Linked DNA regions of Homo sapiens: all the other regions are linked to region 1. Evidence: promoter capture Hi-C in 16 types of primary human blood cells and fetal thymus (Javierre and others, 2016). All regions are on one chromosome and are shown on one strand. Each heading gives the region's core, a stretch centred on a gene start or on the middle of the fragment in contact. The rest is flanking DNA. Distances are from core to core; before and after follow the strand shown. Region 1 overlaps NWD1 (NACHT and WD repeat domain containing 1). Region 2 holds the start of USE1 (unconventional SNARE in the ER 1). Region 3 holds the start of HAUS8 (HAUS augmin like complex subunit 8). Region 4 holds the start of NR2F6 (nuclear receptor subfamily 2 group F member 6).

What was found. The method cuts DNA at HindIII sites, captures the fragments that hold promoters and counts their contacts. A CHiCAGO score of 5 or more calls a contact.
Region 2: the fragment with the promoter of USE1 here is called in contact with a fragment that was not itself captured in region 1 in 1 of 17 cell types (neutrophils); the score reaches 6.7 in neutrophils.
Region 3: a contact is called between the fragment with the promoter of HAUS8 here and a fragment that was not itself captured in region 1, in 14 of 17 cell types (endothelial precursors, M0 macrophages, M1 macrophages and 11 more). The highest score is 12.7, in endothelial precursors.
Region 4: a contact is called between the fragment with the promoter of NR2F6 here and a fragment that was not itself captured in region 1, in 1 of 17 cell types (total CD8 T cells). The highest score is 5.3, in total CD8 T cells.

The regions. Positions count from the first base shown.
Region 1 is chr19:16,769,651-16,776,376 of GRCh38, reverse strand. NWD1 (NACHT and WD repeat domain containing 1) reads right to left here. Exons shown (of 19, transcript NM_001007525.5): 11 at 3,054-3,251. Among named protein-coding and RNA genes, the nearest start is that of NWD1, 53 kb to the right of the region's middle. The HindIII fragment of the contact is 3,685 bases long and covers 2,938-6,622 here.
Region 2 is chr19:17,210,811-17,216,979 of GRCh38, reverse strand. USE1 (unconventional SNARE in the ER 1) reads right to left here and starts at 1,623. Exons shown (of 8, transcript NM_018467.4): 1 at 1,473-1,623; 2 at 1,129-1,178; 3 at 910-988; 4 at 659-811. The coding sequence starts at 1,574. It overlaps MYO9B (myosin IXB), which reads right to left. Exons shown (of 40, transcript NM_004145.4): 38 at 6,132-6,169; 39 at 5,206-5,333; 40 at 3,694-5,085. The coding sequence ends at 4,670. RefSeq lists a silencer at 1,230-1,299 and enhancers at 1,320-1,639, 1,403-1,983, 6,167-6,169. The HindIII fragment of the contact is 55,559 bases long and covers 1-6,169 here.
Region 3 is chr19:17,074,090-17,080,256 of GRCh38, reverse strand. HAUS8 (HAUS augmin like complex subunit 8) reads left to right here and starts at 4,805. Exons shown (of 11, transcript NM_033417.2): 1 at 4,805-4,863. The coding sequence starts at 4,835. MYO9B (myosin IXB) reads right to left here and starts at 4,480. Exons shown (of 40, transcript NM_004145.4): 1 at 4,383-4,480. RefSeq lists enhancers at 1-498, 4,863-5,062 and silencers at 511-610, 4,044-4,338, 4,333-4,682. The HindIII fragment of the contact is 21,850 bases long and covers 2,344-6,167 here.
Region 4 is chr19:17,244,417-17,250,865 of GRCh38, reverse strand. NR2F6 (nuclear receptor subfamily 2 group F member 6) reads left to right here and starts at 4,947. Exons shown (of 4, transcript NM_005234.4): 1 at 4,947-5,923. The coding sequence starts at 5,646. It overlaps USHBP1 (USH1 protein network component harmonin binding protein 1), which reads left to right. Exons shown (of 13, transcript NM_031941.4): 13 at 452-1,695. The coding sequence ends at 641. RefSeq lists enhancers at 1,166-2,114, 2,115-3,064, 4,014-4,963 and silencers at 4,227-4,306, 4,707-4,956, 5,357-5,516, 5,527-5,596. The HindIII fragment of the contact is 5,800 bases long and covers 2,184-6,449 here.

The DNA.
Region 1 (6,726 bases), core at 3,531-6,030:
AGGCTGGTCTTGAACTCCTGATCTCATGATCCACCTGCCTCAACCTCCCAAAGCGCTGGGATTACAGGCGTGAGCCACCATGCCTGGCCATACTTTTCATATTAAAAATGAACAAACTGAAGTCCACACAGGTAAGAACTTTCTCAACTTTAACAGAACTAGAGGATGTACAGCGGGGCACAGTGGATCTGAAACACAGAACATTTCCCTGCCCCAGAGATGAGAAAAATGTCACGCTAAGCTGTAACTTCCTATGCCTGTGCCATGACAGACATCATTAATCAATCACAGCACTATGTGCGATTTGTGCCCCCATAGTCATTCTATCATCTCACCTTTAGTAATAAAACCCAAAAGCCTACAGGTTTTAGCTGAGTACATAGTTATCCGCACAAAGACCACATTTCCCTGGCTGAGCACAGTGGCTCAACCCTGTAATCCCAGCACTTTGGGAGGCCAAGGTAGGCGATCACCTGAGGTCAGGAGTTTGAGACCAGCCTGGCCAACATGGTGAAACCCTGTCTCTACCAAGAATACAAAAATTAGCCAGGCATGGTGGCATGTGCCTGTAATCCCAGCTACTTGGGAGGCTGAGGCAGGAAAATGGCTTGAATCTGGGAAGCAGAGGTGCAGTGAGCCGAGATTGCGCCACTGCACTCCAGCCTGGGCGACAAGAACAAAACTCCATATAAAAAGTAAAAATAAAAATAAAAATATAAAAACATATTTCCCAGGCTTCCTTACAGTTGGAGATATCCAAGTTCTTGCCAATGAGACAGGAGTGGAAATATTTAGTTCTGCTTCCAGGTCGTGCCCTTAAAATGAAGAGGCCTGCCATCTGCTTCTCCTATTCCCCACTGGCTGGAATGCCATCTTGATGGTAGGAGTTGGAGCAGCTATATTGGGCCAACGAGGACAGCCCTACACTGAAAATGGCAGAGCGCCAGACTGAAAGAGTATGGGTCCCAGACACCCTAAAGACTCCCTCTTGCCTCTGCTTTTGCTTGAACTATTTCAAAAGAGAGAATTAAACTCCTATCTTATTTAAGCCACTGATATTTTGGCCATTTTTTTTTACAACATCTGAGCCTATATTCTAACAAATACACACTCTTTCCCACTAAGCTAGCTTCAGTCTTAGAATCCTCAACACAGCATTCTAGTGGCTGCCCCTAAATCAACTCCTCCATGCATTGTACTTAGTGTCTCTTAGCATTTCTATTTTGAAAATAATGTGCCTGGGGAGTGCAGCTCTCACTGCCAGGTCATGTGGCACAGTAAGGAGCTCTGACATTTGAACCACAAGTGAACTCAGTGGTCTCACAATCAGTGTGAGAGATTGTGGGTGGGCAGATAAATAGATGGGTGAATGGAGGTAAATGAGTGGGTAGACAGGTGGCTAGTTGGATGAGTGAGTGGGTGAATGGATGGGCAGGTAGATGGGTAGATGGAGGAATCAGTTTCTCGATGAAATTGAAGTGAGAAAGTTGATGAATGGCTAAGTGTGTGGATGGGTGGAGGCGTAAGTGAATGAATGGAAGATGATCAGATGAAGAAAATGGAAGGATAAGTGGGTAGAGGGGTGGATGACTGATGGGTGGATAGAAGAGAGGAAGGAAGGAAGAAAGAAAGGGTTGAAGGATGAATGAATGGATGAATGGATGGGTGAGTGGATGGATGGAAGGAAAGGTGTGTAGGTGGGTGAGTGGATGGAAGGGTGGGTGGATGGACGGATGAAAGGATGGGAAGGTGATTTGATGAATGGATGGATGGATAGATTAATGAAAAGGTGAGTAAATGATTTGATGAATCGATGAATAACGGATGGGTGGATGGATGAATGGGGCTAGATAAATGAAACAGTGGTAGGGTAGATGGATAGATGGATGGATGGGTGGATGGGTGGATGGATGGAACAGTGGAACAGTAGATGAATGAAAGAGTGGGAGGGTAGATGGATTTAGAGATGGGGGATAGATGGATGGAAAGGTAGCAGGGTGGGTAGATGGATGGGTGGATGGGTGGGAGGATGGATGGATGGATGGATGGAGAGGAAAGTGGTTTGATAGATGAATTGATGGATAAATGGAAGGGTGGGTAGATGATTGGATGAATGGACAACTGATGTATGAATGGGTGGGTGGATGAGTGAATGGATGGATAGATGGATGGAAGGGTGGGAGGATAGATGGATGGGAGAGTGGGAAGGTGGATGGATGGATGGATGGATGGGGCAGTAGATGGATGGAAGGGTGGCAGAGAAGATGGGTGGATGAATGGATGGGTGGGTGGGAGGACGGTGGATGGATGGATGGATAGATGAATGGAAGGGTGGGAGTGTAGATAGATGGATGAATGGATGGGAGGGTAATTGGATGGAAGAGTAGGAAGGTGAATTAATGGATGGATGGATGGATGGATGGATGGATGGATGGATAGATGGATGGATGAATGGATGGGTGGGTGGGAGGCTGGTGGATGGATGGATAGATGAATGGAAGGGTGGGAGGTAGATAGAGAGATGAATGAATGGATGGGAGGGTAATTGGATGGAAGAGTAGGAAGGTGAATGAAAGGATGGATGCATAGATGGTTGGATGAATGGAAGGAAGAAAAAAATGAATGACAAATGGATGGCAAAACCTAAATCCTCTCCTCTCCCTTACATTCTGGGATTCCAAGGGCTGCTTACAGTTCCTTCAGCTTCTCAGAGGACTGTCAGGCATCAGTTCCTAGCTTTCAGAATTACTAGCATGAGCTTGTAAATAGCTGAAACTGTCAGATGGGCACCAATCCCTTGGAGATGGGAAGCTTGGAGGCACCCCCTAGCATCGGGCTCATTAGAAGAATTTATATGAGACATCTACAGTCCCTTGAGGTGGGGCAGAGAGAGCTGATTCAGCATGAGACAGCAGGGGCAGGCTCTGATGGCAAGCTTGGGGCCTCCCAACTAGCACAGGGGAGTCCCAGAGGACAACCTCAAACACCTGGCCTTCACTGCCCCCAGGCAAGCAGGTGCCTGCTGGGATTTTTGCTATGCTGGGGAGACTCACCTTTGTGACAGCCGCTGAGAGTTGCCCGGAGGGGTCCTCCCGGGGGCTGGAGGAATCCTCCGAGGGGCACCAGCACAGGGTGTGCGCACAACTGGAACCAGCTCTGGGCCTGTTGGCATAGCTGTCCCACCAGTGCTGGATGTGAGGTGGCGAAGAAATGGAGTCTGGCCAGCAGTTCTGTGTACAGGAGGCTCCTCTCTGCAACAAAGGGATGTAGACTAAGTTGCCTGGATTGAGCCCCCTCTACCCTCCCTGCCAATTGAGTCTCTGCTCCCTGCAGGGGCTCCAGAACAAAAGAAGACACAATACCTCAGCTACTGGCCTCTGCTGTCCGCTCCTGTCTCCTTCTCTGCTCTCCAGACACACTTACCCTTGCTTCAGAGGCACCCAGCTGTTTCCAGTCTCCAGCCTTTGCCCAGGTTGCCTAGAATGCTTCCCTTTCCTTCCTCCCTCCCTTCTTCTCTCCCTCTCTCCCTTCCTTTCTTCCTTCCTCTTTTATCACACTCTGTTGTCCCGGCTGGAGTGCAGTGGCATGATCAAAGCTAACTGCAGCCTCAAACTTCTGGGCTCAAGCAATCCTCCCATCTCAGCCTCCCAAATACTAGGGACTACAGGCATGCGCCACCACACTCAGCTAATTTATTTGTTTGTTTTATTTTATTTTATTTATTTATTTTTGAGATGGAATTTTAGCCTGTCACCTAGGTTGGAGTGCAATGGTGCGATCTTGGCTCACTGCAACCTGCACCTCCCAGGTTCAAGCGATTCTCCTGCCTCAGCCTCCCTAATAGCTGGGACTACAGGTGCCCGCCACCAGGCCCAACTAATTTTTGTGTGTCTAGTGGAAACGGGGTTTCACCATGTTGGCTGGGCTGACCTCAAGTGATCCACCTGCCTCGGCCTCCTAAAGTGCTGGGATTACAGGCATGAGCCACCGCGCCTGGCTATTTATTTTTTTAGAGACAGGGTCTTACTCTGTCACCCAGGCTGGAGTGCAGTGGCACGATCGCAGCTCACTGCAGCCTCAAACTCCTGGGCTCAAGCGATCTTCCGGCCACAGCCTCTATATTAGCTGGGACTGCAGATGCACGTCACCACGCCTCGTTAGTTTTTTATTTTTTGTAGAGACGGGGTCTCGTTATGTTGCCCAGGCTGGTCTCAAACTTCTGGGCTCAAGATATCCTCCTTCCTCGACCCCTCAAAGCTCTGGAATTATAGGCGTGAGCCACTGTGCTCAGACTCAACCTTTTCAATAAAAGTAGGATCAGAGGAGGGATATATTGGAAATCTTTGTACCTTTCACTCAATTTTGCTGTGAACCTAAAACCGTTCTATTAAAAAATGGGCTATTAAGAAAAATTAGCCGAGCATGGTGGCGCGCAGGCCTGTAATCCCAGCTACTCGGGAGGCTGAGACAGGAGAATCGCTGGAACCCAGGAGGCAGAAGTTGGGTGACAGAGCGAGGCTCCTTCTCAAAAAAAAAAAAAAAAAAGGACTCGTGATCGCGTTGGATCATTTAGGATGTTATGTTGAATGGTCCCCATTCGCCAGCGTGCTTGGATGTACGGAGAGCACATGGTTGTCCAGCAGCGCCCTCTGGTGATAACATTTGTTCCTACACCTCCTCCTTGTGCTGGGGGAGCCACAGGTTGTCAATCAAGGGGCTTTGCAGGGAACTTGCTGAGAGATCTGGGCTTTTAAATCTTCCTTAAAATGGGAAGTCATGCCCAAGGCTGTTTTCCTGGGAAGTTGCTCCATCAAGGTTTACAACTCCTGGCGAGCGCCTCTCGCGTTATTTTTCTTTCCAGTTGCCTTAAATTCCAGTTGTTTGGTATGCTGTTCCATCTCCTTCTCTTTATTTATTTGTGTATTTTGAGACAGAGTCTTGCTCTGTCGTGCAAGTTGGAGTGCGGTGGCGTGATCTCGGCTCACCGCAACATCTGCCTCCCGGGTTCAAGCAATTTTCGTGCCTCAGCCTCCCAAGAAGCTGGGATTACAGGCATGCACCACCACACCCGGCTAATTTTTGTATTTTTAGTAGAGATGGGGTTTCACTGTCACCAAGGCTGGTCTCAAACTCCTGGCCTCAAGCAATCTGCCTGCCTCGGCTTCTCAAAGTATTGGGGTTACAGGCGTGAGCCACTGTGCCCAGCCATCTATCTATTTTTAACTAATTAATTTTTTTTTACAGAGATAGGGTCTCGCTATGTTGCCCAGGATGGTCTTGAACTCCTGCCCTCTAGCAATCCTTCTGTCTGGGCCTCCCAAAGTGCTGGGATTAGAAGCGTGAACCCCCGCACTCGGCCCCATCTCCCTCTCTTAAAGGCTGAGACAAACATTAACTATATTTAGGTCCCTGTGGGAGCTGGGGCTATGGCAGATAATCAGTAGGGGTTGTGTGAATGCATAAGAAAGGCATAAATGATTGCAGGCACCAGCATCTTCACATTGGGTGGAGTTCTGGACACATTTTAGTTCAATTGCACATTTTGCAGATGACAAAAATAGGGTTTCAGGGCAGAAATAGCTCATCCTAGGCTATTCATGTCAACAATGCTATCATATGACAGTAACAGGACCCTCGATGGCAACACGGGTGGAGGTTCTGTGTGAACTGATGCGCGTACTCTTCCCAGCAGCCCTAGGTGGGATGGTCACTCAGCATCCCTATTCTGCAGATGGGAAAACTGAGGGCTGTGGGGCAGGGGGAGGGATGGTAAAGGGTTTGCAAGGTCACACTGCCAAGAAGTGGCAGCGCCAAGATTTCAATGGACACGGTGGGGCTCAAAATTTGTGGTCTCTGTGTGTATTTGTCTGTTCTCATGCTGCTAATAAAGACATACCTGAAACTGGGTAATTTATAAAGGAAAGAGGTTTAATTGACCTACAGTTCTGCAGGGCTGGGGAGGCCTCAGGAAACTTACAATCACGGTGGAAGGGGAAGCAAACACGCCCTTCTTCACAAGGCGGGAGGAGAGAGAAGAATGAGAGCTGAGCAAAGGGGGAAGCCCCTTATTTTAAAAAGCCCCATCAGATCTCTTGAGAGCTTACTCAGTATCAGGAGAACAGCATGGAGGAAAACACCTCCATGATTCGATTATCTCCACCTGGTCCCTCCCTCAATGTGTGGGGATTATGGGAAATACAATTCAAGATGATAGCTGGGTGGGGACACAGCCAAACCATATCAATGTGTTAAAGGTAAAAATTTGGCAGGGAGAAAACAGATGATGCCATTGGCCTTATGGAGCTCAGAGTCTGATGTGGCAGACAGATGATGCAAAAGAAAACCAAGAGAAATCATAATTAAAGGCAAAGACAAGCCAGGGGTGGTGGTGTGCACCTGTGGTCCCAGCTACTTGGGAGGCTGAGGTGAGAGGACCACTGGAGCCCAGGAGTTTGAAGGTGCTGTGCGCTATGATCATGCCATTGCACTCCAGCCTGGACAACAGGGCAAGACTTTGTCTCTAAAAAAAGAAAAAAGAAAAAGAGCCAAGACAGATGGAAAACAGGGTGCAGTGATAGAAAATTCAGAGGCAAGGATCGGGGAGACATAGAGAAGTTAAGCTTCAGTGGTGGCCAGACAAGGCTTCTCTGAGGAATCGCATTTAGCTGAGCTCCAAAGTTGCCACAGAAGGGCTGGGGGAGGCGAGTCCCAGCCCAGGGCCCCCGG
Region 2 (6,169 bases), core at 374-2,873, 440 kb before region 1:
TGAGACGGAGTTTCACTCTTATTGCCCAGGCTGGAGTGCAATGGCTTGATCTCAGCTCACCGCAACCTCTGCCTCCTGGGTTCAAGCGATTCTCCTGCCTCAGCCTCCCGAGTAGCTGGGATTACAGGCGTGAGCCACCATGCCCAGCTAATTTTGTATTTTTACTAAAGACGGGGTTTCTCCATGTTGGTCAGGCTGGTCTTAACTCCTGACCTCAAATGATCCGCCCGCCTCGGCCTCCCAAAGTGCTGGGATTACAGGCGTGAGCTGCCGCACCTGGCCACAACAACTCATATTTTAAAAGATTGAGCTGATCCACATAAAGTGCTCAGAAAGGAACTTGTCATCCTCTTTTACGGCTGAAGAAACTTATGTGTCTTGTAAGTTGCAAGCCAGGACTCAAACCCTGCTCTTGGGCCAACTCTGGGGCTTAACCAGACACATTCCATTTTTGCCTTGTACCAAATTCCTATTCATCTAGCAAAGCCTTAGCCACAATGCCCCTCTGTTGGGCAGCCTTGTGTGATGACCCAGGGAAGAGATTGCTGGACCCCCTTAGGGTTCCTGTATCTGACAGTATTGTGGTTCTGGCTGCCTACAAGCATAGAACCCCTATTCCTGTCCAAGGGATTCCCAGGGACCAGGGAAGGAGCCCTACCGTGCCTAGTAGCTCACTCCGCATCTCGCTGGTGTACCGCGCCCGTGACTGCAGATGCACCGTCTTTGTGGCGGGCACTCGCTCTCTGGCTGTGGTTGGCACACGGCCAGGGGCCAGGAACTGGTTGGCCAGTGCTTTCTCTGAGGAGGAGGTCTGCAGAAATGTGGGAAGATAAGTCACTGGAGGGGCAGGTCCTGGGGACCAAAGTGAGCGGTGATGGGGGCTGAGGGGGCAGGGGCACCCCTTCTCACCAGCTTCTCGGCTTGCAGCATCCCCTTCAGAAAATCCACCTTCCAGGAATATTCATTGATCACCTCAGAGGCCGGTTTGCTGGAAGGCAGGAAGAAGAAAAACAAAACCTGTCCATGGTCCCCAGCTCAGGGAAGGGTCCCAGCTGGGATAGCGGTACTGGGATGTCCAGTAGCACAGCCACGTGCTGATGTGAAAGCCCTGAGGCTGCCTGCACTCACCTCGCGTGGACCTTCAGGGCCTGCAACATGTCCTCTAGGGCTCCCACGTACTGGGGAGGAAAAGTGGATTGTCACCCGGGGGTCTTTCCCATGTCCTGATCATGGGAGTCGGGGGGGCGGGGCCGACAAATGGGAGGGGTCAAGCGTAAAGGAGGCGGGGCCAGTGGGGGAGGGGCGGAGTCCCAGGGACGGGGGCGGAAGCTACAGGTGGACGTGGCGGGACTGACCGGAAAGGGCGCTGCCCGAGAGGCTACTGGGGCCGGGGAGTCGGGCCAGGTGGCTTCCAACCCTAGGAATCACCCCCCGGGAGTCGGGCTCTACGCGGCAGTGCGAGATCCCCTCACCTTCTCCAGGCGCCACTCGTCCGGGTCCCGTTTCTCCGCTGCCATCGCCTCGCAGCGGGATAGCAGCCGCACCAGGTTTAGCTCCAGCCTCGACGCCGCCATTATCGCCCGGCCCTACACCACCCCTTCCGCCGGCTCCATGTTAAGAGAGGGCGGAAGTGCCTTCAAGTGGCCTTCCGGGCGGATGTTTCCCCCGCGCTCGTTAGCTGGCCCATCTTTGTTTGGAGCGGAAGTAATATCTTGTTTTGAGACGGGGCGCTGGGCCGGGCGCGGTGGCTCAGGGCTGTAATGCCAGCATTTTAGGAGGCAGAGGTGGGAAAGGATTGCTTGAGGCCAGCCCGGGCAAGATAGCGCTACTCTATCTCTATTTTAAAAAAATAGGAGAGGCGCCACCCCATTCTTACTTAGGCGAATCACTTGCTTTTCCTCGAGAGCATGTTAACCCTTCGGGAATGATAGGACGACCGGGGTCTTCTGGTGTCAGACCCGCGTGCAGTGTGCCCTTTTGTTCTGTTTTGCCTGCTCAAAGTACCTCCCCGCACCCCACTCCTACCTGGATTCTTCCCAGTCGGAGCTATTTCACGTCCACACACCCTTCCCGATTTCTGTAGCCTGGGATTCAGGAATCCAAGGCTTCCCCCACCTCAGCAGGGCTCATCTGTATTGTGGTTATGGGTTTCCAGGTCACAGCTCCAGCTCTGATTCCATCCTCGGCCCTGGGAGAGTTTAACTTTTCTGGATCCGCTTCTTCCCCCGGGAAATGGACAGTGTGACAGTACCTGCCTCAAGGGGCACATGAGACAGCTCTGCCTGAGAGTGAGCAAGGTGGGGCTGGGTCCCCCCTAACGCCCAGACCCCCATGGAGAACCCCTTCCCAGCCCACCTCAGTACCTGGAAGCTGAGTACCCCTATGCCTTGCAGTGCCTCTCTTCTGGAGTGACAGGATGAGGGTGGGGGCTTCACAGGAACCAGGGCCTGGCATGCAGCCTTCATGTTTTCCCACACCTTAGGTCATCTGCACCTTGGTTACACCAGTGGGCCTGATGTCCTTGAAAAATATCATAGACGGGTAGGTGCGGTGGCTCACACCTGTAATCCCAGCACTTAGGGAGGCTGAGGCAGATGGATCACCTGAGGTCAGGAGTTTGAGACCAGCCTGGCCAACATGGTGAAACCCCGTCTCTACTAAAAATACAAAAATTAGCCGGGCGTGATGGTGGGTGCCTGTAATCCCAGCTACTTGGGAGACTGAGGCAGGAGAATCGCTTGAACCCAGGAGGTGGATGTTGCAGTGAGCCGAGATTGTGCCACTGCACTCCAGCTTGGGCAACAAAGCAAGACTCCGTCTCAAAAAAAAAAAAAAAAAAAGAAAATACCATGGAGGGCCAGGTGCGGTGGCTCACGCCTGTAATCCCAGCACTTTGGGAGGGTGAGGTGGATGGATCACTGGAGGTCAGGAGTTTGGAGAGCAGCCTGGCCAACATGGTGAAACCCTGTCTCTATCAAAAAACACAAAAATTAGCTGGGCTTGGTTGTGCGTGCCTGTAATCCCAGCTACTCGGGAGGCTGAGGCAGGAGAATCGCTTGAACCCGAGAGGTGGAGGCTGCAGTGGGCCGAGATCGCGCCACTGCACTCCAGCCTGGGTGACAGAGCGAGACCGTGTTTCAAGAAAAAAACCCACAACAAACAATGGAGACCAAACCCAGGGCCCATCAAAGGGGCCTCTAGAGGCTGGCAGGGCAGAGTCTAAATCCCAGCCATGCCCCTCCCAACTGTGTGGCCTTGGAGAAGCCCCTCAACCTCTGGCATGTGCTGTCTGAACTTGGGTTCTTCACGGTGCCCCAACCAATACCAGCCAGCCAGTTCCCACGACTCCCATCCGATGGCAGCCTGGGAGCCCATCTGTTCCTGTCCTGCTGGGCCCACCAGGAACTGGCCACCTCTGCTGGATGGGTGGCTGCTGCAGCTGACATTTAGGCTCCAGAGGCTGGGCACTGAATCAGGGAGGCCAGAGAGGGCTGCCAGGACAGCAGGCGCTCCTGGCCAAGTGAGGCTCTGCTGGGAGCTCCCTGTTTGGTGGAGGATCAAGACAGAACTTTGAGGACAGTGTTCCACCCATATTCTGCACCCTTCTTGGCTGAGGCCACAGGGCAGACCCCCACCCACCGGCCCTGTTCTTCCAAGCCCGATCCCATATGAGCAGGCGTCCCATGCACACACTTCTCAGGCACTTTTTATTTCATGCTGTGCGGGGGCCCCTTGTCCCAGATTTGTGGCCACGTGTCCAGGTGTCTGGGGGAGTGGGCCAAGCCTGAGAGAGGAGGGCCCTGCTCCAGAGATCCCCAGGTTGTCCCTGTTGACCTATAGGGAGGTCTGACTTCAGGCGTTGCCCTCCTGACCCGTGAGCAGTCCTGAGTCGCTGGCTCCTATTCTGTCACACGGGGTGGGTAGTGCCAAAAGCAGCCTCCTGCAGCCCTTGGCGTCCGGAAGAGTGACAGCCACATTCAAGTCTCCCTGGCACGTGAGGTCCATGGTGCCCCTGACTCATGTCCTGGCTCCAGCCAATAGCCCAGACCCCCATGGAAGGTTCCAGCATGTGCAAAAATGCACATTGGCCAGGTGGCTGCCCCCCGGAGACATGTGTCAGAGAGGCACGGGTCAGGTGACCCAAGTGTCCAAAACTCTCATGGAGGGTCCCAGCCCATTGGCCACCCCAAGCCAACCACAGCAGGGTCTGAGCCTCAGACGCGCAGTGGCCTAGTGGCTTCTGCTCTGACAGCTCACGTCCAGGTTATAAGGGAGACGGGCAGCGTTAATAGAAAACTTTGTACATACACATATAAAAAACCATTTGGTCTTCCATTAAGGCTGTTACAGTTTAAAGTTACGTAAACCACGTACAAAGAAACAGTTAAACGTACAAAAAGGGGAGTGGGGAGATGTGAGGCCGCAGGTGGAGATGTGGTGCTCCCCACAGGTGCGTCCATGATTTGGGGGCTGCGTGCGAGGGGGCCTGGCTCCAGCCGGCCTCTCCCTGCCTTGACTCTGCACTTGGGGCCGGTGCCCACCTCACGTCACTCTTGAGCTTTTGATTCTGGATCCTTCTCTGAGGGCCGAACACTAGCTCTGCAGCTCTGGCGCCCAGCTCCAGTGCAGGGGCCGTCCTCGGACATGCAGACTTTGTCAGCTGTGGCTCTCAGCCATTGGTCTGGCCCGAGGCGGGGGGCAGGCAGTACGTTGGGGGATCCGAGTACCTCCGCTTGGCCCCAGGTGGCTGGCCATCCTCTTCTAGGGGCTCCAGGGCGCCCTGCACTGGCAGGTCTGCCCCGGGCGTGATGTACACGGAATGTATCTGGTCCGGGCGGCGGGCAGGTGGCTCCCGGCGCCGCACTGGGGCAGCCGCCTCCCGGGCACCCGGTGCCCAGCGAGGCAGGTGGGAGGGCAGGCCTGGTGGGAGCTTGATGTTGGCCGTGGGCATGATGGGGGTCCGCCGGGGGGTCTTCACTCTGACCGTTACGAAGGACGACGGCCTTCGTCGTGGAGGGGCGGCCACGGTGGGGAGGGGGCTCGGGGTGGGCGCGCCGGGGCAAGGGAGAGCAGGCGCAGGGGGCCCTTTTGAGAGACAGATGGCAGGGTTACTGCAGCTTCAGGGCCGGCAGCCGGAGGACCCTCGCCCTGGGGCCTGCTGGGATGGACGGGAAGGAGAAAAGCAGACGCTACCTTAATACTGACCTTCCGAGGCCCCCCGCCCGGCCCGCTCCTCCAGCAGGCTCTCGGTGCTGGCCGACGTCTCCGAGTCCAGGTTCTCCTCGTCCGAGCCCCTTGGGTCCAGCTCCGGCAGCCGGTAGGTGATGTCCTCCCTGGAGGAAAAAGGGTAGTGGTGTCCAAGGCCACCCCACCGGAAGTGCTGGGCCAGTGTGGAACAGAGCAGGCTGTCCTGCTCCTAGATGTAACTCTGTGTCCCCAACCTCCCCCCACCCCAAGCAGGAGGATTGCTTGAGCCCAGGAGTTTGAACCCAGCCTGGGCAACATAGGCGGACCCTGTTCTGCAAAAAGTAAAAAAAATTAGCCAGGCGTGGTGGTGTGCACCACCTGTGGTTCCGGCTACTGGGGAGGCTGAGGTGGGAGGACCCCGTGAGCCTAGGGGATTGTGGCTGCAGTGAACCGTGATCGCACCACTGCAATCCAGCCTGGGTGACAGAGAAAGACCCTGTCTCAGAAATAAAGGCCGAGTGCGGTGGCTCACGCCTGTAATCCCAACACTTTGGGAGGCCAAGGTGGGTGGATCACTTGAGGTCAGGAGTTCAAGACCAGCCTGGCCAATGTGGTGAAACCCTGTCTCTATTAAAAACACAAAATTAGCAGGGCATGGTGGTGGGCACCTGTAATCCCAGCTACTCGGAGGCTGAGGCAGAGAATCGCTTGAACCCGGGAGATGGAGGTTGCAGTGAGCCGAGATAGCACCACTGCACTCCAGCTGGGCGACAGAGCGAGACGCCGTCTCAAAAAAAAAAAAAAAAAAAAAAAAAGTGTTGTTTGCCCAGTGTTAGGGATGACAGGACCAAACCTGGCGAGGTCAAGCGGACCACCAGGGATGGAACCTGCACTCCAGCTTGCCCTAAACATGAAGGACTGAGGGAGGGGACTGAGCCACTTGCTTCTCCTCCTTGATGGACTGGATCCGTTCAATGAGAAT
Region 3 (6,167 bases), core at 3,556-6,055, 300 kb before region 1:
AAACTCAGGCACCCAGCAACAACAGTCATGAAACACCCCTAGCGGGGCTCCTTCTCTTGCACATACAGCCCTGTGCAGCAGGGCAGAGATGGGTTTTAAACAAGTGAGTCAGACAAGGATATCTTATTCATCACTCCGACGAACCCATGGGCTGAACCCTTGAATCACTACTTTATTTATCATCGGGCTCGGGCTCAGAAAGTCTCGCTGAGGAAATGAGTAGAACCCAAACTCGTCAGCTGCATTTCTGAAACATGCCTAATCTCTGAGGCTCTTTCCCAGCCACGATAGAAATTGAAAGGGAACGGGGCTCTGGGCTGCGGCGGTGGGCTGGTGTGGAGACAGAGCCCTTTGTTCTGCCACTCCAGGGACCACGAGGGCAGAAGAGAAGGGCTTGTCTTGCTTTGCCGAGAGGCCGCCTGGGGCCGTCTGAATGGCCGGCCGAGCAGGGGCAGCCTGGCACAGCTGGGCTGGGGATGCCGGGCACACAAAGGGCTGGTGGGTGGGGTGTGGGGGCAGCACCCAGAAGGGACCGTCAGTCCCGTGGCCCCAGAGCGTCTCCTCCAATCAAGGTAAAGCAGCAAAGTCACGGTCAAGGAGGGGGCCAAGCAGGGAAGGGGACAGCAAGATGGACCAAGAACAAAAATTCAGCAGTATGTGCTTGGGAACGGGCGGGCGAAAGGGCCCATGGAAGAGATAATGCAGCTTACAAAAGCGACGTTTATCCGGGGCAACCTCCAAAGTAGCTCTTGGGAGAGAATCTAATACCTCTAATCTCAGAAGAAAAGCAACAGATCATTCTAAGACGAGGACAGTTCCTCCAGAAATCCAGGTCAGTCACAAGACAAAGAAAAGACAAGGGCACCCGCTGTCCACCCTCGGGCACGTTGCCTACCCTCCCACAGTCCGTTCCTAACGGTTCCTCCTTTTTATCAAGACCCGCTCCCTCCTGATTAAGAACTGACTGGATGGCAGGATTCAGTTCCTGGTCTCTGCCCCTGTTCCCACTCTTAGTGGCAGTTCCTCAGGGGCTCCACAAACACCAAGGACCCACCAAGGCAATGATGGGCCCTAGAGGGGAACCAGGTTTTACTAATGAGCATCACATTTCACCTGGCGGGGGAGGTGATTCTGCCCCCAGGGGACACGTGGCCATGGCTGGAGTCATTTTCAGTTGTTACCCCTTGGAGGGGATGGAATACTACTGGCATCTCATGGGTGACAGCCAGGGACACTATTCCACATTCTACAGTGCACAGCCCCAACTGTCAATGGTGATGCGGGTGAGAAACGGCCCTGGAGATTTGGGTTTCCCCAGTTAAAGGTTACTAAGGATCCTGCATGTTTCTAGAAAGCTCAAGGAACCATCTCTGAAGTCATCACCTGCCTGGGCCTGTTTCTGTATCAGGAAGATAAGAACAAGGACCCTCGCACTGCCGGTTGGCAGAATGAGAGAGCTGGGATGCCCTGTACAGGCCGGGCTTCAAAGGTATCTGCTTGTGCAATCCCTTCCACCCGGAGTGGTTTAACACGTGGTATCTTTCCAGGTTTGACCTGGGGCCAGCCACTACTTCCGAGGAAACTTGCTGGAATCCCCCTTGTCCTAAAGCTTGCATTGGTTGTCCCTAATTCTCCCCCCATAATATCTTGTGGCCCCTCTGTCACCGTACTGATGACCTGATCTGAATTCCATTCTTTTTTTTAATTATTATTATTTTTGAGGGCATCTTGCTCTGTCACCCAGACTGGAGTGCAATGGCGCAATCTTGGCTGGCTGCAAACTCCGCCTCCTGGGTTCAAGCAATTCTCCTGTCTCAGCCTCCAGAGTAGCTGGGACTACAGGCGCACATCACCACGCCGGGCTAATTTTTGTATTTTTAGTGGAGACAGGGTTTCTCCATATTGGTCAGGCTGGTCTTGAACTCCTGACCTTGTGATCCACCCACCTTGGCCTCCCAAAGGGATTACAGGCCTGAGCCACCGCGGCCCAGCTTGAACTCCATTCTTTCTGAAGAGGAAGTGCAAAGTTGTCGGGGGCGGGCATTAGCGTGTCCGTCCTCTGGGTCATAAGGATTCACCTCTGTCCCCAGGAATCTACCAAGTGTCTGGCACAATCAACCCTTGCCTAACTGAAATCTAGGCCCACCCAAGACACACCATTTGGAAGAGATGAGGAATGGGAAGCAGCAAGTTAACAAGTCCATGTGGGGAGAGAATAACGAATCCTACAGCCAAACAGAAAGGGGAGATTCCCACGTCTCTACCTGCTCCACTGAGTCACCAGACTGGACCCGAGGGACGGTACTGCCTCGGGATTTCCAGAAATTTGCAGTTTCCAAAGCTTTGGGAATAGGTGCAATGTGCAAAAGCACCTTCAACACCGCAATTTTCTATTTGGACGATGAAGAAGCGGTTGAAAAAAAATCATTTTTGGATACAAACTGTCGAATGGAAAACGGAATAAAAGTAGGATCATCGCAGCCAGGAATGGAGAGTGGGGGTGCTGTGAGGAGTTCAAGGCCGGGAGCTGGGGGACATGGACTGGAGACAAGACGGTGATGAGAAGAGTTGGGTTTCAAGGTTGAAAAACGCTGATGGAGGTCAATTCATTCATTTTGCAGGTGAGAGGTCAGAAACAGGCACAGAGACTTGACCAAAGCCAGGATCTCCAACACAGTGCTCCCCCCACAAGACCCTGCTTGGCCATTCTCTAGCGGCAGGGAAGAGGCGATTGCAGGGCTGCGGGATCAGAAGATCCCGGTCCTGTTCTGTAGGCCAGTGCAAGCCTACAGTTCAATGTTTGCAGGAGGCATGACTGTGGGCTGTCACTGCATGTCCTGGGGCAAGCCAGGCCAAAGCCACCTTTCCTAAAGGCCAGGATATTCTGGAAGTGAAGGGGGTGCTTATCTTTCTGTGGCCCTCTTTATATTCCAGCTATCCGGGTTCATCTCCTGAATGAGCTATAAACTAAACATAAGCTGGGGTTCCCCAGCCCTTCTGGCAGATCCCAGATAAAGATCCCTACAGTTGGGAAAGGGGAGAAATGAATGCCAATCAAAAGCACCCTGCACAAAGTCCCTGCCAGGGCCACAAGAGCCAGGCCTGTCAGATGTGAATAACTTTCCTGTAGCCCAGGTCACCTCCGGCTGCTCCTGGACACCTTAAGATTCTGAAGACTCCAACATCAAAAAACAAACCGAGTTGGGACTCTCTGGCTGGAAAGTGTCCCCACGGGCTCCCACCTCAGACAAAGAGGCAGAGAAGCCATCCCTTAAAGACCCCTGGCCTCCAGGGTGCCCAGGAAAGAAAGGAGGGCTCGTGGCTGTCGTGCCTCTCCAGGGCTGAGCTCAGAGCAACCGGGGGACAGATTTCCTGTATGTCGTTTTACCCATTTAAGTCCAAGGATGCAGCTCTGCGGAGGTGGCGACAGTCCTGTACATGAGGGTGCATGCACACTCCCTCCTGAAACACAGTTCCGGCCCCACAACCGGCCCTGAGGTCCCTTCCTTGGATCCAGGGAATCCCAGAATCCTGCTAGTCCTGTCTTAAGGGGAGGGTGGTGAAGTTTCCAAGACGAGGACACTGGCACAGAGGGTGTTGGGACTCGTCCCAGGTCACCCAGCTGTTAAGTGTGAAGTCAGGAGGGACACGAATCAAGAGGGGAGGGTGGGGGGACGGAATCTCCAGGGGCTGCATCTCAACATCTATCTGCACGGGGCCACTCTAACCCCTTCCTTCTCTTCCCTCCTCTCCGGGCCCTCCCTCCCTAAGCCTACCCTCAGTTCTTACCGTGACTTCTACTCCGTTTACTTCCCTTCCAGCTCCCATTTCCCCGCTTCCCAATAGCCGGCTGCCGCATCAGTTAGTTCAGAACCCCCCGCATTTACTGAGCGCCCACTGGGGGCCAGGCGCCGCCCTCTTCTCAGACACCCTTCCTTCAATCGCGCGGGCAGACGTCCCCAGATCGGTCTCGCACCCCTTCCCCTCAACCGCACCCCGGCTGTCCCGCCCCTGGCCTTGCCCACTCCCCCAGCCTGGGCCTCTCGTTCCCGCCTCCGTGCCTCCCCACAACGCCGTTTCCTGCGACCCCCCAATTACCACTTAAGCCACGTCCTCTTCAGAGAAGCTGCTCAAAGCCACAAGACTCACCCCCCCCACGCCCTCGAACTCCCTCACCAGCTCCATCCCCATCCACTTTCTCCTTCACCGTCTCGCTTCCACCTCATCCCCAGCAATCTCTCCAAGACCCCCAGGCTCGTTCCCGCCCCCTCGACCCCTGCCGTCGCGTCCCCCATCAGCCCTCAGCTCCGTCCCTCTTCTGCGCAGCCCCCAAAGGCAGGCTTCGAGCTCGAGTCGCCAACCCGAGGCTGCCTGGTACTCACCTGGCCTCGGCCGCCGCGCGCCGCCGGTCCCGGGCCGGGTCCCCGGCCGGACGACCGCCTGCCAGCCCGCCGCTGCTCGAGCCGCTCCGCCCCGCCGCGCCCGCCGCTCCCCCGCGCGCTCCCGCTTCCGGGTTCCGGAGAGGCGGGGACGGGGGCGTGACGCCAGCGCTCCTAGGGGCGGGGCATCGCGAAAAGCCCCGCCCCTACTGTCCGACAGATCAGGTCCCACCCACCGCCCCTACCCACTACCGCCGATGGTGGGCGAGACCAAGTGCGAGGGGAGGACAGGCGAAGCGCGCGTCTGGGGCCGCGCTCTCCACACTTAGCCGGCGCTGCCTCACGCCTCGCAGCCACCCCTCCTGCGTCTCCACAAATGGTCCGACCCGCAAGCAAGGGGGCGGGTCCGGCTTTGAAAAGCCGGCGGGTCGGGCCTTGAGGTGGAAGGCGGGAAAATGGCGGATTCCTCGGGGCGAGGCGCTGGGTGAGTTGGGGCTTCCGCAGGTCTGGATTTGTAGACGCCATAGGGCTGGAGAGGATGGGCAGCGGAGGTGGGGAGTTAGGACCCTCGGGGTGAGTTCGGGTTCGACCCCGCCAGGAACTGCGCGGGCCCCTGAAGACCCCGATGGCGTGCTGCCTCTGCGCATGCTCCGGAGCGCTGACACCCGACCGGCCCTGAGTTCCGCGTCCTCGGCTGGGACGCTGGGCGACCTCCGGCAAGCGGCCTGACCGCCCAGTGCCTCGCTTTCCTCCGCTACGAAATGGGGCCGATGACGCAGCTCAACCTCGTAGGCGTCGCGTGAGGCTGAAACGCGCTTAGATCGGCGCCTGGGTCTTTACTGTGATGTCGCTCTTGGAATTATCGTTATGCAGTGAACAAGTGTTGGGCGACCAAAGTGTCCCCTTTAATCCTCCCACGCGCTTTATTCTGTGCTCCCAGTTTACTGAGGAGATGATGGAGACCCAGGGAGGGGAAGTGACTTGCCTAGGGTAACACACCATGAACAAGAAAGAAGTTGAATACTGACCGAGAGCTAGGCATGAATGATCATGAGGCTATATTTGTCTAGTTTTGTTAATTCTGCCAGTGTTGATTGTGCCAGGTGCAAACTGAAGTGAAATTGGCCAGCAAGAGGAATCACTCCACCGCCCCTTGCCGTAACCGATAGATTGACAGTAGCACCTCCCAGGTACAGGTGCAGTAGCTGAGGCTCGCACAGGTTGTAGGGACCCCCCTCAGGTCGCAGCAGGTTCACCCAGGAGCCCATTCGGTTTGAGGCCACAGCCCTAGCACAGTCCCCAGAGGGAGTCTGTGCTCTTGTCTCTTTCTGGCTGTGAGACTGCCCCGGGGGTGACCTATGTAAAACCTGTGCGTCTTTGTTTTGCAGCGACGAAAAAGCAGGTGTGAACAGTTAGGAAGCTGTCGGGTTAGGAGGAGCCTACGGGCGAGCGCAGCTGCTGGCACCTGGCGAACATTTGCTAAGTTGCCTCTCCCCACGGTGGCCTGGAAGTGTCCCCAACATTGTCTGGGTCTCACTTTGGGGTCCTGGGAGCCTGCTTCAGAGGAGGTGGCCGCAGGGACCAGTGGAGCCGCCTTTGGTGATGGGAGCAGGAGTTACAGTGCCCTGGCCTTGGCCCTGCCCCTCCACTTGCCCATCCACTTGCCCCTCCTGTGTTGCTGGTGTCTGTTCTTGGATCCCTTCTTTTCTCACCAGCTCAGGCTGAAACCCTGAAACCCCTAGTCATCCCAGATTCTCCCTCTCCTGCACCCCCACAGCTGATGAGTCA
Region 4 (6,449 bases), core at 3,698-6,197, 470 kb before region 1:
CAAGAAAAAACAGGCTGGGCATGGTGGCTCACGCCTGTAATCCCAGCACTTTGGGAGGCTGAGGCAGGCGGATCACCTGAGGTCAGGAGTTCAAGACCAGTCTGGGCAACATGGTCAAACCCTGTCTCTATTAAAAAATACAAAAAAATTAGCTGGGCGTGGTGGTGGGCGCCTGTAATCCCAGCTACTTGGGAGGCTAAGGCAGGAGAATCACTTGAACCCTCGAGGCAGAGGTTGTAGTGAGGGGAGATCTTACCATTGCACTCCAGCCTGGGTGACAAGCGCGAAATTCTGTCTCAAACAACAACAACAACAACAACAAAAGACCAGCTAGCTGGGACCCTTGGAGACCCAATGTGAAAGAGCCCCCATTCTGGGAGTGGGAGTACACGGCCCTTGCCTTGGGTGGACTCGGGGGCTGTTTCCTGACCCAGCCACCCACCCCTTCCAGCGCCCTGGTCCTGGCCTTCCGAGGAGCCCACCGGAAGCAGGAAGAGCAACGCCGGAAGTTGGAGCAGCAGATGGCACTCATGGAGGCTCAGCAGGCCGAGGAGGTGGCGGTGCTCGAAGCCACTGCAAGGGCCCTGGGGAAGCCCAGGCCTCCCCTCCCGCCTCCCCAGCTTGGGGACACCTTTCTGTAGGCCCCTTACCCAGCCATGTCTGGACATGCCAGACAGCTGTGGCATGTCATAAACTGTCCTGGAGTGACATCATGTCATGTTGCATGATTTGGCATGTTGGGGCACATTTGGCGTGAGGGAAGCTGGTGCACATGGGTGTCCAGGGCCTGATGGGGTGTGGCCAGGCAATGAAGAAAGACTCAGGTGTCTTTGGCCTGGCACCAAGTGGAATGTGAACTTCATATCAGTGGGGTCAGGCCAGAAGCAACCTGGGCTATGGGACCAGGTCCCTGGGACTGACGCATTTCGGGGGTCCGTGAGGTTGCATAGCCACAGCTGAAGTTCCAACTGGCCTGTCTCCCGAAGCCCAGGGAGGGATTCATGGGGACTGGACAGAGCTTCTCCTGGCAGCCCCTTCCCAGGGAGATGCTGGGTTTGGCTGGCAGATTTTCCTGAAGGGGGCCGGGCTCAGTGGTGCACATCTGTAATCCCAGCATTTTGGGAGGCCAAGGTGGGTAGATCACTTGAGCCCAGGAGTTCAAGACCAGCCTGGGCAACATGGCAAAACCCCATTTCTACAAAAAAATACAAAAATTAGCCAGGCGTGGTGGCATGTGCCTATAAAGATATTTAGGAGGCTAAAGTGGGAGGGTAACTTGAGCTTGGGAAGTGGAGGTTGCAGTGAGCTGAGATCACGCCACTGCACTCCAGTCTGGGTCACAGAGTAAGACCTTGTCTCAAAAAAAAAAACAGGCCAGGCGTGGTGACTCATGCCTGTAATCCCAGCACTTTGGGAGGCTGAGGCGGGGAGGATCACCTGAGGTCAGGAGCTTGAGACCAGCTTGGCCAACATGGTGAAACCCCCGTCTCTACTAAAAATACAAAAATTGGCTGGGTGTTGTGGCACATGCCTGTAATCCCGGCTACTCGGGAGACTGAGGCAGGATAATTGCTTGAACCTGAGAGGCGGGGGTTGCAGTGAACCGAGATCGCGCCAACAACAAGATCGTGCCCGGGCAATAAGAGCAAAACTCTGTCTCTAAATAAATAAATAAAACACAAAACAAAACAAAAAGGAGGGAGACTGAAGCTGGAATGGTTCAGATTCAGGGTGTGGATGACGAGTTGCTACTAACTCAAAGCTAAGGTCAAGGGTTTCTGGACTCCATGTGGTCGAGCTTGCCTGTAATCCCAGTATCTCAGGAGGCCGAGGGAGGAGGACTGCTTGAGCCCAGGGGTTTAAGACCAGCCTAGGCAAAATAGGAGAGTCTGTCTCAAAAATAAATAAATAAAATAAGGTAAAGGGTTTCTGGGTGGGGGACAGGCATAGCAAAGGTAATAGTCTGGGACTCAGGGGGCGTTGTACTTCAAGAGAAACTCAGAATGAATGCCAATGGTGGCCAGTTCCAGCTTTCTCCTGGGGGCCCAGGAGCTGTGGGACGTGTCAGGTTAATAGCAGGCAATGAATTAGCATGTCATTTGCATAAGTCACATCTCCCTGCCCCTCCACACCAGGACTGGCTGAGTCTGGGAAAGGGGAGCTTGGAACGACCCAGCCAAGCTTGGATTAGTGGCCAGCTGTCCCCCTTCAGGGTGGCAGCTGAAACCCGAGACAGGGATTAGAAAGACTTTCATTCCCAGCCTTGGGGGCAGGTGCTCCAGGCCTCACCTGTGCAGGTGTGTTCACCGCCTCTCCCAGGGCAGGACCACGTCAGCCTGAGGTCAGCGCCAGTCAGCGGCCTGGACTTGAATCCAGTCAACCTGACCCCAGAAACAGAACAAGAAGTATGGTGGCGAGCACAGTCCCCTCCAGCGAGGGCTGGGGCTAGTCACCTTCCGACCCACACGCTGTCCCTGGACTTGGGCCAACTTTGAAGAAAGCAGGGAAATGGAGGCAGACCACCTTGCTCGTGTTGGGGTGGGGCAGAGAAGCTGAATTTCTTCCCTGTACCCTGCCGAGCCCCAGAGTCTAAGACCTGAGTTCCTGGTCCCACCAGGTTGCCTGTGGAGGGGCAAAGGGAGCCAAGGTCACATGTGGGAGGACGGAGACAGGTTCCCAGGCTGCCCCAGCAGGATCTGGCCATTCCCACGGGTGCCCCCTCAGCAGATGGGCCTAGGCCCCTTTGTCCCTGGTTTGCGGCCGCCGCAAGGTCAAATGTTACTGCAGGGCCGCGGGCAGGGGTCAGGGAGGCGGGGTAGAGCCTTGATCCACCCCCAGGCGGGCCCCAGGGGGCACAGGGGTGGCCAGGCTACTGGAAGGGGGTGGGGCAGCCTTTGGGACTGGAACTACTGGAGTTTCTGGGATCTGCGATGGTCTTTCTTCCCCCATCTCCCACCCAGCTCTCAGCTGCCTCGCAAGACTTGTCTCCCCCAAACCTAGTTCTTTGCTCCCTCCCCTTCACAATCCCCTCAAGATTCCTTGAGTCTTCTCTCCCTCTTCTTTTTTTTTTTTTTTTTGAGACAGGGTCTTGCTCACGCTGGAGTGGAGTGACGTGACGTGATTATAACCCACTGCAGCCTTGAACACCTGGGCTCAAGACGGGTCTCACTTTATTGCCCCGGCTGGTCTTGAACTCCTGGTCTCAAGAGATCCTCCTGACTTGGCCTCCCAAAGTGTTGGGATTACAGGCGTGAGCCACAGCGCCTGTCTCTCATCTAAATCTCTTTTCAATCCCTTCTGAGACCTCCACCCCAATGCTCCCCACCAAAGATCCTAGCAGGTCCAGGCAAGGGGCCTAGGATCCCTGCCCTCATCCCAAATTACCAGTCACATTCCCATGCAGCCTCAGAACCAAAGGGTCGTCTCTGCCCACCCACGCCTTCCTCTCTCCCAGCAGGGATTACATCAGGCTGTGGGCAGAACCCGACTCTAGACCTCGGGAAGTCCTTGCTCATGTCTAATCCTAGTCCTTCCTGCTTTTCGTGTTTACTAACGCCTCCTCCTCCACCTCCCAGGCAGCCAGAACGTCCCTGGAGCAGGTTGAGAGGCCCAGGGCTGGGTGTGCCTGGCTCTCCCAGAACCTCAGTTTCTTTTTAAGTGTTGTAAGATCTCTAAGAATCTTTCCCCCTACTCCAGGGAGGGCAATTCTTCAAGTCTCATCAGGGCTCTGGGAGGCAGAGGAGGGGGTGCGCAGAAGGCACTGTCCTGGCCAGAGCTCTCAGAGGCCCAGCTGCATGCTCTGGTGTCCAGCTCTGGGCTCAGGGCGGGGTGGGACCACAGTCTGGGTGGCTGGGGCTGCAAGACTCCGAGGTGAAAGGTCACTCCTGGAAGGGCTTGTCCAGCCGGTTAAAGGTTAACCTGCCCAGAGCCAGAGGCTCGCCAGCCCGGGCCTCGCATACAAAGGGTGCTTAATAAATGCTGGTCGGGCGGGCCCCAGCCCCGGTACTGGGGGATGGGGTGAGTTGGAGGTGGCGGCAGCTGCGAGGCTCCAGGGCGCCTGGAAGAGACATCTGCAGTCCAGCCGGCCGCCAGGCCAAGCCCTTTCTGCAAAGCACAGAAAGAAAAGGAAATTAAAAGGGAAAAAGGGGCAGGCCCCCAGACAGGGCATGCCTGTCGCCTCCAGCCGCGCGGGGCGGGTGGGCGCCCTGCCCCCGGAGGCCAGAAATTCTGCAGAGGGGCCCCCTGACCTCGCGGCCCCGGCCAGCCGGTCTCAGACCACAACATCCCTTCCCCCTGGAGATTCCGGGCACCAGGTGTTAACCCGAGCAGAGAAAGGGTGGGGTGGGGGTCAGACGCGGCGACTTTCTGGAAGAGGAAGCAAACACAATCTAGGGTGTGTGTGTGTGTGTGTGTGTGTGTGTGTGTGTGTGTGTCTGTCTGTCTCGCGCGCGCGTGTGTCTTGCGCAGGGGCGTACCCCCCCCCCGGGTGCCACTGGCCCCCCATCATTGCTTTGCCAGGAACTGTGGGGTGGGGAGAGGTTCCGAGGGGCGCCTCGAGGGTGATCGAGCGACCCAACGTCCAAGGCCAGAGGTGGAGGGGAGGGCCTTGGAGAGACATCTTGGCGAGGCTCAAGGAAGGGCAGAGGGCAGGCGCGGCTGAGGCTCCCGCCGCGGCCCGGCAGGGGTTAAGGCCCGAGCTGGGCGAGGGCGAGGGCGGGGGTGCGGGGGGAGGGGCAGAGGGAGGCGGGGGAGGGTCAGGCCCCGCGGCCCAGCGCTCGGCCCCCGTCCCTCCCGCCGGCCCGTTCGCCCGGCGCCGCGCGCGGCCACCCATGCCCTTATAAGGGCGGCCGTCGCCGGGGCAACGAGCGCCCGCCCCCAGCCCGCGGCGCGCGCCCCTGCCCCCGCCCCCGCCCCCCGCCCGCCCCGCGAATGGAACGCTGTGTGTCAAACCGGCCGCAGCGCGAGGCCGGCGCGCGGGGTCGGTGGCGGTGGCGGCGGCGAGAGCGAGGCTTGGGCCCAGGCGCAGGCCCAGGCCAGGCAGGAGCGGCCGCAGCGGGGGCGGCAGCTCCAGAGGCGCCGGCCCAGCGGCCCTGCAGGCCCGGAGCGGCAGCCGCGGGCGCCGGGGGACCCAGGGGGCGCGGCGATCAGCCCCGGCGCGCACCCGCCGCCCCTCCCCCCCCGCCACGGGCGGCCGCGCAACTTGCGGCCAAACTTTCCCCCCGGCCTCCCGCGCTCGGATGGCGGCCCGCTGAGTTGGCCGCAGCCCCCGGGCGAGCGGCGGCCAGGCCAGAGGACGCCCCCTGCGCGGCTCGGGCCGGGCCATGGCCCGCGCGCCCCCGCCGGGGCCCCAGGGCGGCGGGACGCGAGTCCTCTGGGCCCCCGGCCCGCGCCTCTAGCGTGCCCCTCCCGGCCCCGGGCCCGGCCCCGCGCACGCGTGGGAAAGTTGGCCTGGAACCGGCCCGACCAGTTCCGCCCGGGCGCGAGGACCGGCCGCAGGAAGTTGCTGCAAAACTTTTTTGGGGGGTGCAGCCCGTGCCCCCCGCGCGCCGGGGCCGAATGCGCGCCGCGTAGGGTCCCCCGGGCCGAGAGGGGTGCCCGGAGGGAAGAGCGCGGTGGGGGCGCCCCGGCCCCGCTGCCCTGGGGCTATGGCCATGGTGACCGGCGGCTGGGGCGGCCCCGGCGGCGACACGAACGGCGTGGACAAGGCGGGCGGCTACCCGCGCGCGGCCGAGGACGACTCGGCCTCGCCCCCCGGTGCCGCCAGCGACGCCGAGCCGGGCGACGAGGAGCGGCCGGGGCTGCAGGTGGACTGCGTGGTGTGCGGGGACAAGTCGAGCGGCAAGCATTACGGTGTCTTCACCTGCGAGGGCTGCAAGAGCTTTTTCAAGCGAAGCATCCGCCGCAACCTCAGCTACACCTGCCGGTGAGCCCCCCATCCGCGCGCCGCCGCCGTGCACCCCGCCCCGACCTGGGGCAGGCCTCTGACCTGCTCGGTCACCTTGGGCCTGGCGCTGACCTTCCCTGGGCCTCCACTGCCCCCTCTGAGATAGGGGCACAGCACCCTCCTCCCGCATTCCATGGCTGGGATTGTGTATACAGTCGGCGCTACATCGTTGCAGGTTCCCCCCCCATCAGGTGGTCCCTGGAGGCTTTTGCCCCAGTTACTTGCTTCTCCTTCCCTCCGCTTTTTCTCTGGGGAGGGGTCATCTCCGCGCTGGGGTGGGGGTAGGGGTGCTGTCAGGGGTGGTAACCCAACCCCAGGGCACCCGTTCTCGGGGATCCCGGCGCGCGGGATGCCCTCGAGGGAATCGAACGTGGAACTTGGACCGTGGAGCTCGCAGCGTCCAGGGGCCATTGTCTGCGGCCGCGCGGATCGATACGGCGCGCCCTTGGGGTCAAATATCACTTCCAAAGTCGCTGTGGCTACGGAGGCGGCAGACGGAGGGAGG